Linked DNA regions of Homo sapiens: region 1 is linked to region 2. The links are contacts of gene promoters, found by promoter capture Hi-C in blood cells and fetal thymus (Javierre and others, 2016). All regions are on one chromosome and are shown on one strand. Each heading gives the region's core, a stretch centred on a gene start or on the middle of the fragment in contact. The rest is flanking DNA. Distances are from core to core; before and after follow the strand shown.

The links. The method cuts DNA at HindIII sites, captures the fragments that hold promoters and counts their contacts. A CHiCAGO score of 5 or more calls a contact.
Region 1: a fragment that was not itself captured here is called in contact with the fragment with the promoter of ZDHHC4 in region 2 in 1 of 17 cell types (monocytes); the score reaches 5.0 in monocytes.

The regions. Positions count from the first base shown.
Region 1 is chr7:7,562,440-7,565,508 of GRCh38, reverse strand. It overlaps MIOS-DT (MIOS divergent transcript), which reads left to right. Exons shown (of 5, transcript NR_110084.1): 2 at 1,185-1,272. Among named protein-coding and RNA genes, the nearest start is that of MIOS-DT, 2.1 kb to the left of the region's middle. The HindIII fragment of the contact is 984 bases long and covers 799-1,782 here.
Region 2 is chr7:6,576,179-6,578,905 of GRCh38, reverse strand. ZDHHC4 (zDHHC palmitoyltransferase 4) reads right to left here and starts at 1,452. Exons shown (of 8, transcript NM_001134389.2): 1 at 1,408-1,452; 2 at 186-340. RefSeq lists an enhancer at 209-824 and a silencer at 1,103-1,432. The HindIII fragment of the contact is 1,968 bases long and covers 1,380-2,727 here.

The sequences.
Region 1 (3,069 bases), core at 41-2,540, 990 kb before region 2:
CAGTCTTTGCTTGTCTGTTCATGATTAAAAGTGGGTGGTCTTGGGCTTGTGGTGGTGATGGCTGTAAACAGCATAATGAGCTTAGTCCTGATGATCTTGGTGGCAGATGGTTTTGATAAGATGATGAGTTTGGGGAAAGTATTGCCTTTCCAATCCTGCCATTAGAAGAATGTAGGCTGAAGAAAGTGCTGTATTACTGAGAGGAGACATGACAGTATTCATCACTTCAAACACTATCTTGCCAATCTTCTCAGTGGTTTTGACCCTGGCCTCAAACCCCCACACAAAACCTCAGATCAATACAAATCTCTTCCTTATCCACTCCTACTATACATAGTTGAGGACAACTTTTCTGCTTGCACTCAGGAGATGACACTGCCTCCTACTTCAGAAAAGAAAATTAAAACTATTAGCTAGAATTTGCACAACCTCCCACTGCTTCCTCCTTCCCTCCTCCAACATCTTGATTCACTACCATTCTTACCTTCTTTTAGGTGACAAAGAGTAAGAGGAGGAACCCCATGTATATCTCCTCTTCTGGGACCTTGCACCATCAATTACTTCACTTCCATGTATCTTTGCCTCTCCATTTCTACTGGTTCTTTACTTTCAACACATACTCAAGTTATTCCCATTTTCTCTTCAAAGGAGAGGATCATATTTGCTCTCTGTAATTCCACTTCCCCCTCTCTCCCTTGAATTCACTCCATTCAGTCCTTCATGCCCACCATGCCACGAAACTGCCACTTGTCAAGGTCACCTGTGAGCTCCATGCTGCCAGTTTCAATGGCCAAAGCTTCACTCTTGCAACTTCTGTTGTTCTTGACTACTTCCTCTCTTGACATGTCTCATTCACTTTGTTGCATATCATCACTTTCTTCTGGTTTGTCTTTTATCCCTGTGACTTCACTGTTCCTTAAACATGACAAGCATGCTCTTGCCTCAGGGCTTCTTCACTAGCTATTCCCTCTGTCTGGAATGCAGAAATCTACATGACTCATACTCTCCCTTTACTCAAGACTGCTCACTTGTCACTGACTACCTATAAATTAGCTCCTTTGTTGTTGTCTTTATGACACCACAACTTCACATACGTCGCCATCTCTTTACTTTCCTATAGTTATCTTCTAGACTGTGTCTTCTCCTTATCTCCAGTTTTCATTCTGTATTTTTTTTCTTTTTAGTAAGAGGAAATAACTCTACATTCAAATTTGAGCAGGGCACTTGGTGACCTACTTAGACATGACATTCCTTGGCCTCCCTTTCAGCAAGGTAAGGCTATATCAAAAAGTTATGTCCTGTAAGATGTGAGTAGAACTGGATCATGTCCCTTAAAAGGAAAGCTGCTTGCTATACACTTTCTCTTCCCTCTTCTTGCTGTCTGGCAAATGGCAAAAAGAAATACAGACTGGAAATGGAAGCCATGTATTAAGGAAGGCAAAGCTGTTCTCACTAGCCTAAGTCCCAAACTAATCTCAGGGAGCTGGGGCACCTCCTCCCTTGGATCAACCACAGACTTCTGGACCATTATGCAAGAGAAAATAAACTTTGTTCTTTAAAAAATCATTGTTTGTTTGGACCTGGTAGAGCAGCTTAGCCAATTCCCTAATTAAAACAGAGGGGCTCTGTCTATTTTATTCTCTGCTTAATCACCAGGATGTAAAACAGTACCTAATAAATGTGGTAAATAAAAATGTATTGAATAAATCCTAAAACAACGTATTTATTCTACATCCTCCTCCAGCTAATGTCCCTTTTTCAACTTTCTTTTCCACTCAAGCTTTGTGAAAGTATATATTTTTTCATATTGCCACTAATTCTTCTAAAGCCCCTCACAGGAATAAGTGACACCTTTCTCAGTCTTTTTGGAAACTGATTCCCCTTCTCTACTAAACCAAGATCCTTGCAGGTAGCAATCTTTTAGCATGGAACTTTGGATTTCCCTTAGCACCTGTTGCATAGGTATCCAAAAAATATTTACTGAGTTGAGTGAGTGCTTTGTATCTTTGGAAACAGTAAACCGTAGCAGAGAACTTGACAGACTGGTCTGAGATTACACTAGTTGCCTTTACTAAACATGCGTTTTACAATAGATCCTAGGGCCACTGTAGTTCAGTCTCGGTATTTTGTTTGTTTTTAATTTAAGCTTTTGTATTCCTAATAGGATTTTTTTATTGTTGTTTTTTTGAGATGGAGCCTCGCTCTGTCGCCCAGGCTGGAGTGCTGTGGTGTAGTCTCAACTCACCACAATCACTGCCTCCCAGGTTCAAGTGATTCTCCTGCCTCAGCCTCCTGAGTAGCTGGGATTACAGGCATGCGCCACCATGCCTGGCTAATTTTTATATTTTCAGTAGAGATGGGATTTCACCATGTTGGCCAGGCTGGTCTCGAACTCCTGACCTCAAGTGATCTGCCTGCCTCATCCTCCCAAAGTGCTGGGATTACAGGCATGAGCCACTGCGCTTGGCCAGGATGTTCTTTTTAAGATTCTTCATTTATGTTGTGGTGATCCAGGAGAGGATTTTTGTTGTGGTTTTAAAACCAGAAGGATTGCAGTTGAAGGACAGCGAATTTCTTTCTTATTTACAGCTGCTCCTGGCAGCAATTCAGTTACTACAGTACTGGAACATTTTGTGAAGTCTGTGACTGGCTAATCCCAATTCTTTTTATTTCCACATGCACAAAATCAGTCTGTACCTGAGAGCAAGTTTTGCTTTTAGATGGAGGCTGGGCAGGTATCAAGCTGAAATGAAGCCCTGTAAACATGTGCCATGGCTTAGGTAATCTTTTCACATAGGTTGAAGATCAGAAGATCAGAGATATCTTAAAATAATGGCCTTCAAAAACTTTTCTAGAATATCCCCAAATAAATTTTTTAAATCAATGCATTTCTTCATGCATTTTGGGATTACACCTAACATTGTCAAAACAAATTTACATAGTTGTCAAGTATATGATTTGTAATATTTTTTAAATCTTTAAATTATAAGCAAAACAGGGCTGGGTGTGGTGGCTCATGCTTGTAATCCCAGCACTTTGAGAGGCCGAGGCAGGTGGATCACCTGAGGT
Region 2 (2,727 bases), core at 203-2,702:
TGAGACCCTGTCTCAAAAACAAACCAAAAAAGATACCGGAACTGGTCACTTTTGACCTTAGCAGATAAGATTCTGGGCTGTAATGCCAAGTGAGATAACCAAACAAGAAGCTATTCATGACATGATAGGTGAGAGTAAACAAACAGCAGCAATTCTCACGGGGTGATTCAGGGTACCCAGCCTACATTTCTCTTGGTTGGGTAATTTTCAGCCGGCAGCTCTGGCATTCCTCTTCCCAACATTCACAGATAATTCAAACAGCAGCTCCTCTTGGGCAGCAGTGTGTGCCTGGCATGACCAGTAGCTGCCGGACATGGTTCTTCCAGGAGCCTGGATCTGGCTGCAGAGACAGATCAATTCAACACCCACATAAGACGACAAGAGTTGCAGTCAAAGGCAGAATACCTGTGGAAAAGGATTTGGAAGTAGGGGATTTTCAGCACCCCCAGCATGAATGGGTAAGACTTTGGGAGAAATGGCCCAGACTAAGTTGCTTAGGCCTGCTCCCAAATCTTTGGGAGGCCCAGGCAGGAGGATAGCTTGAGGTTAAGAGTTCGAGACCAGCCTGGGCAACACAGTGAGATCACTGTCCCTACATAAAAATTTAAAAATCAGTGGGGCGTGGTGGCCCGCGCCTGTGGTCCCAGCTACTTGGGAGGCTGAGGTGGAAGGATGGCTTGAGCCCAGGAGGTCGAGGCTGCAGTGAGCTGTGATCGTGCCACTGCCTTCCAGCCTGGGCCATAGAGCTGGACCCCATCTCTAAAAACAATAAAAGAGGCCGGGCGCGGTGGCTCACGCCTATAATCCCAGCACTTTGGGAGGCCGAGGCGGGTAGAACACCTGAGGTCAGGAGTTCGAGACCAGCCTGACCAACATGGTGAAATCCGTCTCTACTAAATACAAAAAAAATTAGCTGGGCGTGATGGCGCATGCCTGTAATCCAAGCTACTGGGGAGGCTGAGGCAGAATTGCTTGAATCCGGGAGGCGGAGGGTGCAGTAAGCCGAGATCGCGCCACTGCACTACAGCCTGGGAAACAAGAGCGAAACCCCGTCTCAAAATACAATAATAATAAAGACTTTGTGAGAAACAGCTAGTTGGGAAGAAATAAGCCAAGTCGGTAGCCTTGGGTCTCTCCCCGCCACTCCCCATTAGGGCCTCCCGAAGCCACCCCCATCCAAGGCACCTCCTGGGCGGGCCTGGTCGGAGATTTCCCTGGGGGCTGGAGCCCTGGTAGGGGGACGTGGAGTGCAGCAGGCTCGGAGGGGACACCGGGGCCGCCCCGGACTCGGGCGAGGTGGGGGTGGGACGGCGGCCCTACACACAAGGGGAAAGGGAGGGTCAGAGGAGGAGACTGACGGTCCTGGGACAGCCCAAGCTTCCCACAGCCCCGCGGAGGCGGCCTTACCGCCAGCCGCTGGGCTCCGGCGCCTCCCGGGCGCGATACGAGACTTCCTGCGGGCTCGTGACATCAGCACGGCGCCCCTGAGGGGCTGACTTCCGGCGGAAGTGTGCGAGGGCCGCCGCGGGTTGCGGGGCTGGAGTAACAGTGACCTCCCCGGCGCCCTCGCAGCCAGCCTGGGGACCTCCGTGGCCGGGTGTAACCGCTGGGAAGTGCGATTTTATTTTATTTTATTTTATTTTATTTTATTTTATTTTATTTTATTTTATTTTATTTTATTTATTTTATTTTATTTATTTTATTTTATTTATTTTATTTTATTTATTTTATTTTATTTATTTTATTTTATTTTATTTTATTTTATTTTATTTTATTTTATTTATTTTATTTTATGTATTACCTATTTTCTTATTTACTTATGTATTCGTTCATTCATTCAGAAACAGCCTCGCTCTGTCGCCCAAGCCGGAGTGCAATGGCGCTATCCTAGCACACTACAACCTCCAACTCCTGGGCTCAAGCAATGCCTCCTGCCTCAGCCTCCCAAGTAGCTGGGACCACAGGTGCATGCCACCACACCCGCCTAATTTTTTTTTTTTTTTTTTTTTTTTTGTAGAGACGGGTGTCTCACTATGTTGCCCAAGCTGATCTCGAACTCCCGGGCTCAAGTGATCCTCCCACCTCGGCCTCCCAGAGTGTTGAGATTACAGGCGTGAGTCCCTGCACTGGGCTGGAAGTGGGATTTTAGAGCAGTATTGCCAGGAGACTTACAGGAGGACCGACCTGGGCCTGGTGGGGGCGATCATTCTGGGGCTGTGACAGGGACTAAGCTGCCCTGCGGCCTGCACAGAGACCAGTCATGTCCCTGCTCAGAGCCCAGCAGGGGGATCCAGGTGGCCCAGGGCAGTCACACTTAGGGGGCTCTCAGACTATGTCTGTGTGGTGGACAGAGTTTGCTTTCAGCCACCCACACTGTTGAGATCTAGCAGAACATTTCCAGCATCTTCCGTTGCAGAAGCGGGCAGAAAGCACAATGTGTACCCATCAGTCAGATTCCGCTCCATGTGTGTCCTTGCTCCTGATGACAAGGACATGTTGCTCTGTACAGCCCTAAATATCCTCGGGGCAGTGACAAATACTTGACCACAAACGTTGAGGATAAAAGGGAAGGGTGTTTGATGCTAGGCAGGCTTGGGGTAACAAGAGCTGCTTCCAAACATAGCCCTGAGAAGGCCCTGTGGGGTGTCCTTTGCTCTGACCATCTCTGAATCAGCTGAGGCCAGGGTCTATTCCTGATGCCTCTGAAGACCTGAGCCAGGCCTGTCC